Linked DNA regions of Homo sapiens: region 1 is linked to region 2. Evidence: promoter capture Hi-C in 16 types of primary human blood cells and fetal thymus (Javierre and others, 2016). All regions are on one chromosome and are shown on one strand. Each heading gives the region's core, a stretch centred on a gene start or on the middle of the fragment in contact. The rest is flanking DNA. Distances are from core to core; before and after follow the strand shown.

Region 1 (5,731 bases), core at 2,876-5,375, 1.6 Mb after region 2:
AGGGCCAGGATAATTATCCAGTGTTTGTCCCTCTGCCAAGTGCTGCCCCTTGGACTTGGGGCCCTCAGGCCATCAAGACTGGGGCCCTTTGCTCCTGGAGTGTCCCAAATTGATAGTGTAAGGGTGGTTCCGATTGAGTCTGACATGCTGCTAGGAACCCTCTGTTTTCTTCCCTTTATTCTCTTCTATCTTCCTTTTCCTAAGGCTCATCCCACTGTCCATTCTTCATAGGCTTCAAGGTGCTCTTTGACTTTTCTCTGTAGCTAGGCCATGGGACTTTCAGGTGTCACCCATCCTCCCACCCACTCACTTGCCTCTTGACAGTGCACCAGCTGAGGCACAACTATGTGTTGGGGAGATATGTAAGGAGAAATGTGAGACGTGGTCTTGCCCCTAATAAACTGTTAAAGAAAAATTATCCTGATATCTGTGAAAAACAGCAACGAACACTTTATTCAAGGCTATTGCAGTAAGGGTCAAGATTATTGCAATAGGTGAGAGGATTGAAACCCAAATACATCAGGGATAAGGGGGGATTTACAGCCAATCAGCACGCTGGGGGAGTGGATGGAAAATTACTAACAGGAACTTGATTAGGTGGAGGAAGAGGAGCTTGATTGGATGTTGAGGGTGAGAGAATCTCAGTAAATGGACTTAACAAGATTCATTGCTAAAACTTGGCTCATCAGGTCAAGGGCAAGGCCTAGTTGAGAAGAAGGCTTCAGGGAACCCGACTAAAGTTTGGTCAAGGAGGGAGTCTTTGCCAGCACTCACAAAGTCATATGAGAGTCAGGACCCAAACACAGGACCCAAGCTGCTACGAGGCAGTGATGTGCCAGCCATGGCATGGCTGAAGCTTGGAGAGGAGCCAGTGGATATATCTGGGTTATTCCATCCCCTCGCTCCAGGGCTGACTGGCAGACAGTCACACTGGCTTCATCTCAGGTTCATTCATTTCTCACTGCTCTATGATACACCATACTTTTCTTCTACTTCATACTTTGAAGCTTGAATTTCCAAGATTTGATAAGAAAGACTGAAAACCATAAGCAGACTGAAAAGTGCCAAGGCTTTATCTAGATCTTGGACAAGAACTTTAACCTCATGTTTCTTGTTTGCAATATTGAGACAATACTTGTTACAGATTGAATTGCGTCCCCCAATAATTCATTTATTGACTTAACCTGCAGTATGACTGTATTTGGAAACAGGGCCTCCAAGAAGGTAACGGTTAAATGAGGTCATAGAAGGTGGGGCCCTAATCTGGTGTCCTTGTAAGAAGAGGAAGAGATACCAGAGATCTTTTCCTCTGTGCACACACAGAGGAAAGGCCATGCAAAGACACAGTGAGAAGGTGGCCGTCTGCAAGCTAGGAAGGGAGGTTTTACCAGAAACAGAATTTTCTGGCATCTTGACCTTAGACTTCTTACTTCCAGAACTGTGAGAAAATAAAAATGTCTGTGGTTTAAGCCCTCCAGTCTGTGGTACTTTGTGATGGCAGCCTGAGCACACTAGTACAATACCTATCCTGTGGGTTTACGATGAGAACTGAACATAAGGTGAGTTGAGGACCTAACTGCAATTCACACGTTGGCTTGTCCCCCTTTCCTCCTGTCATGTGATTTGTAGGGTGTTAAGGGTCTTTTGCCAGCAGACACCTTCCTTGTGACCATATGATGGTGTGGAAAATTCACACAGTAGAAGCATTCTTTTGGATTCAGGCTTTGCTTCTCTGTATAAACTAAAAGGGGGAATTTTCTGAAAGCATGTTATTATCAGTTAGGATTCCTGGTTTCAAGCAGTGTACATGGATTGGCTGGTTTAGGCCAAAAAGGAACTATTGAAAGGATATAGACTGGGGTACAGGATTGGCAGGAAGGATGGAGGATCAGATGTGGGGCCTGCCAGCTGGCAAAAGGGCCAAACGTCACACCTTAGAATGGGGCGTGAGGACTGCAGGGCTATGCTGCTGGGCGCCGGCTGCTGCTGCTCGCTCCTCTGACCCTGTGAACACTGGCCTGCTGTGACACTGCTGGACTAGACTCTTCTATGACCAAGTCCTCCACACCGATGTGCCCTGTGGTCTCTGTGATTCTGGAGCGCTGCTGTCTCCTTGGCTGAGCTTAGATCATGAACACTGGCATTTTCAGCACTGAGAGTGGGAGGCAACTCTGCCTCCTGTCAAGATTCATAAGGTGGGGAACTTCCCCAAACAATTAAAAGCAGGCTCAAAATGCCAGATGGTCAAAAAGAATAACAAGTTCCCCCACAGATACAGGGAAACCTTTCAGAACCCCCACATAGGAAGTGCAGCTTCACTCACAGGAGTGAGAACAAAGAATTGGAAAGCCGACGGCTGGTTACTCTGCATCTCTCTGCCCCTGTCTCTCTGTCTCTGTGTCTCTGTCTTTCTCTCTCTCCTATATTTTCCAGCTCCACTTGCTAAAGGTAAGGCCCACCTCTGTCCTGACCATTAGAAATTAGTTGTCTCCCTTAGAACATCTTTTTCCTCATCTTCTGCAAATACTTTTCAATCCCCCTTGGAGATTCCCTCCTCTGTCCATTTTTGGTCTGGGTGGGCTCCATCCTCAGCCCTCAGGATGGGCCATAGGACCCCGTCCCAAGCCAATCAACACACTATTCCCTTGGATGCAGGAGTGAGTATGTGACCTAAACAGCCTCGATTCCCACCCCCTTTTTTATTGAACTCAAACTTATCTGTTGCAAAGTGTACAAAGTATACAACTTGATGAATTTTACATAAAATCCGTTGTATACATCTGTGGAATCATTACTGAGATTGAGATACTGATCATTTCCATCAGCCCAGCACCTCCCCTTGTAGTCCTTCTCTGTAATACTCCACTCAAAGATAATCACTATTCCGACTTCTGTTACCATTAATGGAAATTTTACCCATTTTTAAATTCTATATGAATGGAATAATATGTAATCTTTGGTGGCTGGCTGTTGATCTTTCTGTTACTGACTTGCAGCAGTTCTTTATTTTGGATATGAGTCCTTTGCTAAATACATATATTGCAAATATATTTTCTTAGCTCATAGTTGCGTTTTGACTCTCCTAACGATGTCTTTTTAGGAATATTAGTTCAAATCGCTAGTCTTTCCTATGGTTAATGCTTTTAATTTGTTCTATTTAGAAAATCTTTTAATGCTTTTAATTTGTTCTGTTTAGAAAATCTTTGCACACTCTGAGATCATGCGCAAGTTAATGACTTTGAAGGACGAAGAAGTAAAATGTTTTTGTTGCATTTGAGATTGTGAGGCAGTGAGGCTGAGCCAGAAACGAAGACAGAAAGCAGATAGACTTGTAGGGCTGGCCTTGAGATGGGGCACTGTCACAGGGTGAGTCTGAGCTTTGCAGGCACTGTCTATTTACTATAGTTGTGGCTGAAATCAGAGGCAGGCCAAGTGGATGAGACATGGGGCAGTTGACCTCAGAAGAGATTCCTTTAACTATTTCCTTTTTTTTTTTTTTTTTCTTGAGATGGAATCTTGCTCTGTTGCCAGGCTGGAGTGCAATGGCGCAATCTCAGCTCACTGCAACCTCCGCCTCCCAGGTTCAAGCAATTCTGCCTTAGCCTCCTGAGTAGCTGGGATTACAAGCGCCCACCACCATACCCAGCTAATTCTTTGTATCTTTAGTAGAGACGGGGTTTCACCGTATTGGCCAGGCTAGTCTCGAACTCCTGACCTCGTGGTCTGCCCGCCTCGTCCTCCCAAAGTGCTGGGATTACAGGCATGAGCCACTGCACCCGGCCAACTATTTCCTTTTTAAAATTTTTTTATTTTTATTTTTTGAGAGAGTCTCACTCTTTGGCCAGGCTGGAGTGCAGTGGTGTGATCTTGGCTCACTGCAACCTCTGCCTCCTGGGTTCAAGTGATTCTCATGCTTCAGCCTCCTGAGTAGCTGGGATTACAGGTGTGTGTCACCATGTCCAGCTAATTTTTTTGTATTTTTAGTAGAGATGGAGTTTTGCCATGTTGGCCAGGCTGGTCTCAGACTCCTGGCCTCAAGTGATCTGCCCACCTCAGCCTCCCAAAGTTCTGAGAATACAGGAGTGAGCCACTGCACTCAGCCTAACTATTTCTTGATCAAATATTTTATTGAGCTCTTCTGCTGCAAGATGACATCCTCATGGAATTTATATTCTAGAGGATTTTAGAGATTATTTTAAAATACCTTCTTATAGTCCAGATTAGGAAGCCAAGGTGAAGACATGAAAAATAATTTGCTTGTCATCACAGAGCTAGGGAAGAAGCACAGCTAAACCAGAACTACAGCTGGAACCCAGGTCTCCTGGATTGAACTGTCCCCGCCCCTGCCCCTGCCCCTGACACTAGTCCAGCAAAGAAAGACCTGAGGGGTGCTGGTGATGAGTGATGACTGCTCTGCCTCAGGCTGAAGATAGAAGCAGCCTATCTCAGGTGGGTGGAAATTTTCCTTTCTTCCTTTGACCATGGGCAAAGTGATATGCCCTGGTCCGCAGCAACAGAGACTTCAGGAAGCCCACACACGTCAAGCGGCCAAAGCGGACCAGTGTCAGCAGGGGGAAATCAGAGGGACTTCCCCCAAGTCCTTCCTGTCAAAGAAAGAAGCATGAGAGGCCTTCATGAAGGTGAAAACCACACATTAAGGACTAGTCCAGACTGGGTACATGTCTCCCCAGTGCAGCTGCTACCCCTTGGGTTTTACCCCAGGACACTGGGTTCCGTCCTGTCATGGTGGTCAGTGCTGGAAAGTTGGGGTTTAAAGCTGTACACAGAGCTTCAGGCAAGTCCTAGGCCAAAGTTCAGTCCAAGGAGCACCAAGGTCTTCTCACTAGCAGCAGGTAGGAAATGATGGACATTGGATGATAACCTGGAGGCCAGTGACATGGTGAGACCACTTCTGACTCCCTCATTTCCCATCTCTGACATCACATCTCCACCACGTGGGCTCACTTAGACATGCTCACAACTATTAAGGTACCACTGGGGGCTTCCTATGACCAAGTCCCTTTAAATGTCTTTTGAATGTTCCCTCCCATTGTGAGAGGAAGGTAGTAATAAGGTGGTACCAAAATAGAATCTTGACACCCATTTACAACTTTTATTTGAGAAGAAGAAATGGGGAGTTGATGAGTGAGTATACGGAGAACCAGTGAGTGAGTGAATGTATATATGTATCTATTTACTTTCCTGGGCCCCAGTAACCTTATTCCTTGAATTCTTGTTGAACCGCAAATTTAGAGCTTCTTTGTAGGTTAGTCTGGTGATTCACTGTTGGTTTGTGGGTGTCAGACATGCAACTGTGACAGCTGTCATCATCTTCTGTTTATGCTGGATTGTGGACTTCTTAAGATCAAGGCCTGTGTCTTTTTTTATTTTTTATTTTTAAATTGAGGCAGTGTCACACTCTGTCACCCAGGCTGGAGTGCAGTGGTGCAATCACGGCTCACTGTAGCCTCAACCTCCAAGGCTCAGGTGATCCTCCCGCCTCATTTTTTGATTTTTTGTAGAGATGAGGTCTCACTATGTTGCCCAGGCTGGTCTCAAACTCCTGGGCTCAAGTGATCCATCCACCCTGGCCTTCCAAATTGCTGGGATTGTAGGTGTGAGCCACTGCACCTGGTTTTTTAAAAAATTTAAGTTTATGTTTTATTGAAGTATAATATGTATACAGAAAAGAGTACAAACCTTGAATGCAGCAGGAGGGTGTACATGTACA
Region 2 (5,950 bases), core at 917-3,416:
CCACACAAAAAACTTGGATACAGTACTCGCAGCAGCATTATTTATGCTAGTCACGAAGTGGAAATAAGGCCAGGCGCCATGGCTCACACCTGTAATCCCAGCACTTTCAGAGGCCGAGGCGGGCGGGCGGATCACTTGAGATCAGGAGTTCGAGACCAGCCTGGCCAACGTGGTGAAACCCCGTCGCTACTAAAAATACAAAAATTAGCCGGGCATGGTGGCGCGCGCCTGTAATCCCAGCTTCTCAGGAGGCTAAGGCAGGAGAATCCTTTGAACCCGGGAGACGGAGATTGCAGTGAGCCGAGATTGCGCCATTGCACTCCAGCCTGGGCGACAGAGCGAGACTCCGTCTCAAACAAAGAAGTGGAAATAAATGTCCATAAACGGATGAAAGGATAAACACAATGTGCCACATGCATATAATAGAATATTATTTAGCCATAAAGAGCATGTGTACTGATACACGCTACACCATGGATGAACTTGAAAATGTTAGTGCTAAGTTGAAGGAGCCAAAAAACAAAAGGCCACATACAGCGTGACTCCATTTATATGAAATGCCTACAATAGGCAAATTCACAGAAAGTACAAGATGAGTAGTTGTCAGGGGCTGAGGGAGGAATGGGAAGCAATTGTTTAAAACACACTACATGGTTTCTTTCTGGAGTGATGAAAATGTCCTGAAACTAGACAGTGGTGATGGCTGCACTACACTGTGAATATATTTAAACAAAAAACAAATACCTGAATTGTACACTTTAAAATGGTTAAAAACTTGAATTTTATCTCAAACAAAACAAAAATCAAGTGCCCTCAAATGTATATTTCTAAGTGCCTAAACTGAGAACGATCTCTACTTTCAAGAGGACTAACACTGAGCTATCCACCTGCAAGACTGTGAAGTTATCTCCTAGGGGCACATAGTACCCAAGACCTACCTTAAAAGACTTGTCACAAGATACCCAGATTAATACTGGAACACACAAACCTCATAGTTTTTCTTCATTTAAAGAAAAGATTTTGAGTTTAAAAAACAAAAACAAAACAAAACAAAAGCTTGGGACTCCCCAGTACTTGTTTTCATAAAGCAAATCTAGTTAATACACACCCAACACTTAACTGTGAATAACTGTCCCGTCTTCACCTCCCACTTACGCCAGGAAATGAGCAATACAAGTACTATCATTCCCATTTTCTAACTGAGCAAACTAAGTCTCCACAAAATTTAATTCTCCAACGTTCAGAGTTTACAGAGCTTTAACACAGGCCATTCGCTTTCTTACTATTAATTACAACTAACTTTCCAAGTTATTTATTTTAAAAATCACATACAGCAGATTGCTGTTTGCCAATCACTGACTTAAACACCTAGAAATCATATTTTTTAACAACCCTATGAAATGGATGCTACTGCGACACAGAGAAGCTAAACAACTTGCCCAGAGTAACACAGCTCCTCGTGTGTAGAGAAAACCTGACTAGGAGAATTCAAGTGCTAGCACTGAGAACTCACCTTCCAACCGCCCTCTACCAAGAACGACACTCATGTTTGCACCCAGCTTTGCTTGAATGAAGCTTCCTGTCCACTGGCTGGGAAACCAGGGCAGAAAGGGCCTGAGGAACACGCGCAAAGGGCCGCTCTCCCAGACCCACTCCCCGCACCGCCTGCACGGATAATCGCCGCACACCCCCGCTCGAGCCCAGCAGGCGAGTGGGGTGCGAGGTCGAGTGGAAGCGCTGGGGAGCCGACGGCGCAGCAAGGGGCGAGTGAGGTGTCCCCCGGGAAGGCGGCGCACTGACTGGCGCGGGACCGGGTGGCCGCAGGGCGGCTCAGCCCACGGAAACGGCGGTAGGGCGGGAGGCTGGCGCTGCAGCTCCAGCCGGGGGGCATAAGGAATATGGGGCCGGACCACTTACCTCTTCTGAAGCCATGGGGGCTGGGTCAGGCCGAAGTCCCGAGCTGCAGCCGCGCAGAAGGAGGAACAGGAAACCCCGCGCCGAGCCCTCAAACCGAGCGCAGACGCCTACCCGCACGAGTCGCGGCGCTGCAGCCTGCGCCCACACCGACCCTGCGCAAGATCGCGGCCCGCCTCCCGCACGCGACGGATCTCGAACCTTCGCGAGGCAGCCGCCGCCACCGCCCACCGCGAGCACGCACAGCCCGCCAAGCCTGGCTCCACCCACCCTTCCTCGCCTCGCCGAGCCTAGCCCCACCCCTCCCCGCCCCGCCGAGTCTGGCTCCGCCCGCCTGCCGAATCTCCTAGCAACGCTCAAGTCTCGCGAGCGAACCGGCAATCCGAGAAGAGTAATGTCTTGCTCTCCGCCCTGACAACTTTTATGTATTATAATTTGACCGCGCTGGGCCACGCTGCGCAGTCGCAGCTCGGAACCGCTGCGTTAACCCAGCCCCGGAAATAACGTACCGATCTTCGGAGTCCAAGTCGGAAGTTGACTAGAGAGTCACCTGCTTTCGTCCGCTCTAGGACACCAGACACACCAGGCCGCCATGTTGTGTAAGGTTAGTCTCTCAGCCTCCGCGAGAAGAAGGCGAAAAATGGGGAGGAGCAGCCTGGTTACTTTCAAACGAGAAAGAACGGATATGTTAAGCGTGGAGGGCTCCTAATGGTAGCGGTTTGATTTTCAGTGAGTTTGGCGCGGTGGAGACGTCACCGCGGTCTAACAGTTCCGACGTGGTGGCGTCATCACTGGCCGCCGTAGGAGGTGGAGCTACGTTGGCCTCGTGACCGGGCCCTGTAGCGGAAGCCCAGGTCAAGGCCCTAACAAAAGGGCCCGCCTATGGCCACAGTTTCAGGCCCTCCTTTCAGTCATGGACTGTTGAAGCACGATTTCCTGGTGCTTTCGCCCCTTTCACCGACCATTTCAAGAGTCCGTAGTTCTCGCCTGGGTTTGGATTCGGTATAAGTGAGCCTGTTTACCATCAAAGAAAATGGTGAAATGTCTTCTGGAGACGATGTTCTCTTCTGGTTCTAACCCTGTCACTCAGTGAGACCCCCAGAGAAGCCTAGTTTTCAGATTATTCTAGTCCTTGGCAGGCTCAAGATGTCAACAACACGGTTGGAAACAACCCCTGAGAGGTCACATAGCGCGCACTCAGCTTTACAGATCGTCCAAGGCAGCGACCCCTGAGAGGTCACATAGCGCGCACTCAGCTTTATAGATCGTCCAAGGCAGCAATTAGAATCAGCAACTCGGAGAGGAAAAAAAGCTGTTAGCGGAATGGAGGCTGACCATTATCTGTAGTAAAGAATCGGAAGTACAGTACAAAAATAAATTACCGAAACGCAACATGCGTGAATTTCACACAAAAAAATGAAGTTGAGGGAAAGAAGCCAGACATGGAAGAGTTCATATTGCGTGGTTCCATTTAAAAACTAGCCCATGGTGTTAATGAGCATAGTGGGGAGGACAATGACATGAAAGAGCCACCAGGGGGCTTTTGAGGTTCAGGTAATGTTTCTTGATTTGGACACTGATTATAGATAGGTGGGTTCACTTTAGAAATCTCATTGAGTTGTAAACGTATATTTATGTACGTAGTTTTTTCTGTAGATTATGCTTAAGGCCCGGCGAAGGGGAATTTGCCCAGGTAATGGAAATATTACACCGATACATAGAATTGTCAAAGTTCATGGGATGAACTCCTAAGAGCTGTGTATTTTATCGTATAAATTTTTTTAAGTGTCCAACCAATAGCCTGGAATTATTAAGTACATAATTAAATAAAAACAAATATCCCATGGACCTAATGCAGTGAACAGTTACCTCGTTCTCTTAATTGCTCAGGCTAAGGACTCATACCTGAGTCTTCTATCTCAGGCCTTACATCTTATATAACAAGCCTTACTGGCTTAATCTTCAAAATATGTAGCGAATTTAACGAGTTCTCACAACCTCTGCTTCTACCACCTGACGGGGTTTGGGACATGCTACCCAAAAATATGGCACCTAGACATATTGAATACTTTGAACTGAAGGAATTTGAGAAAGAACATATGCAGGAATGTCTCTAACTTTCTTGCACCTTTCTGCTCTGAAGCAGGACGTAATACCCTCATGTGAGAATTGCCCTGTCTATACCTGGAATAAAAGTAACATCTTTATCTCTGAAAACACAGGGACGTAGAGACGAATATGAACATCAGGCCTTGCTAAGTTTCCCCCAGTTTATTACCCTTAGATCACAGTCTTTTAGCCCCATCACATTTTCCCACAATTCTCCATTCTTCTTCAAACCTACTCTAAACAACACTAAGGTTAACTATTTATTCGGGTCTTCATTTCTTTATGAAGTTTCCATGTTATGTAAAACTAACATTAATATTTATGCTTTTCTCTTGTTAATTTGTCTTTTGTTACAGGATCCCCAGCCAGTGAGCCTAAAATGGGTAGAAGGAAAAGATATTTCTTACCCTACGCACCCAGGTCCAAGTCATCATTATTTTGTCTGAAATTTATCTTCCTAACTGATTTCTCTGCTTCCCCATTGTGCCTTAAGAGTTAGTTTTCCACAGAGCAGCTCGAGATATCTTTTCAGATCATTATATCCCTTTGCTTAAAAACCTCTAACAGCTTCCTATTAGGCTTAGAATAAAGTACAAACTCCTTAATGTGAACTTGAGTGTTTTACGTATCTTATCTCACCTTTATGAGCTTCATGTCAGAACCCATCTCTCACCACTCTTCCTTCCCCGCTCCCTGATTTAAACAGTCTGGCACTTTACTTATTCATTGAACCCACTGGGTTTGCTCTTGCCTCCAAGTCTGTACCCAGCTTTCTCTCTACCTGTAATCCTCTTCCTCTAGGTCATCACACAGATCGTTTCTTCACTCTATTTAGGTCTTTCAGAAGTAACACTAAGGGAGGCTTTTCCAGACAATATTATGCAAATATAAATGGACATGTGACAAATACTTTATTCGACTTATTAGTTACTGAGAGTGTATTTGAGTAGCCAGGTATTTATAGGCAATTTAACAATGTAATGTTAGTATAAGGTGGCAAGGTTAGATATAAACCTGTTAATGTCTCACAGGGTAATAAACTATAACTTTTGGTGTTATCTGTTCCACTGGAAAGGAAGTAGGGATTTGCATTCTTACTGGACAAAAATCTACAAGTTAATGTATAGATTCAGTATAGGACTTTTAAATCAATAGTGAACGATGAAATGAACAAAGTACAATCCCCTAGTCCTTGGTTTGACACTGAAAGGACATGCCACTCACCTTTTTGCCTTGTTTCCAAAGTTTGGAATAATTTTCCTTTCAAAATGAAATTATTTCTCATTCAGTTGTCCTATTGCAGGCAGCCTTTACTGCTTCCCCCAGTTAATGTACCTGTCAAGCTTACTCATGATTTCCTAACTGCCAAATTCAATGGATATTTTTAATTTTTTTTTTGCTATGACTCATACTGTTCCCTTCGGGCTTGTCAGCAGATAAATGACCTTCTGGGGACTGTGCAAAATATGGAATGCTTAATGAATTTGTGTGTTATTCTTGTGCAGGGGACACAACAGTCTTCTCTGTAGATTACAGTTTTAGTGTATGTGCTGTTGAAGTGAGCACTTCTGAGTAATTTTGATTGTTTTACTTTTTATGTAAAATTTCACATTGTTTAAAACACCAGATGGGGGCCAGGCATGGTGGCTCATGCCTGCAATCCCAGCACTTTGGGAGGCTGAGGCGAGTGGATTGCTTGGGCTCAGGAGTTTGAGACCAGCCTTGCCATGTGGCAAAACCTTGTCTCTATAAAAAATAGAAATATCAGCCAGGCATGGTGGTGTATGCCTGTAGTCCCAGCTACTTGGGAGGCTGAGGTGGGAGGCACTTGAGCCTGGGAGGTGGAGGTTGAAGTGAGCTGAGATCACGCCACTGCACTCCAGCCTGGGTGACAGAGCAAGACCATCTCAGAAAACAAACAAACAAA

Evidence for each region. Contacts are between HindIII fragments. The CHiCAGO score rates a contact against its expected background, and 5 or more counts as called.
Region 1: a fragment that was not itself captured here is called in contact with the fragment with the promoter of CACYBP in region 2 in 1 of 17 cell types (total B cells); the score reaches 7.5 in total B cells.

Annotation. Positions count from the first base shown.
Region 1 is chr1:173,409,889-173,415,619 of GRCh38, reverse strand. All of the region lies in intron 2 of LOC100506023 (a long non-coding RNA gene), which reads left to right. It also overlaps a transcript of TNFSF4 not described here. Among named protein-coding and RNA genes, the nearest start is that of PRDX6-AS1, 49 kb to the left of the region's middle. RefSeq lists enhancers at 917-966, 1,027-1,186, 1,767-1,816, 4,372-4,921. The HindIII fragment of the contact is 6,231 bases long and covers 1,010-5,731 here.
Region 2 is chr1:174,996,163-175,002,112 of GRCh38, reverse strand. CACYBP (calcyclin binding protein) reads right to left here and starts at 2,166. Exons shown (of 6, transcript NM_014412.3): 1 at 1,918-2,166. The coding sequence starts at 1,932. It overlaps LOC105371622 (a long non-coding RNA gene), which reads left to right and starts at 2,467. Exons shown (of 2, transcript NR_188647.1): 1 at 2,467-2,518; 2 at 4,380-4,634. It also overlaps the pseudogene RNU6-307P. RefSeq lists a silencer at 2,146-2,265 and enhancers at 2,296-2,805, 2,357-2,893, 2,836-3,045. The HindIII fragment of the contact is 3,791 bases long and covers 1,578-5,368 here.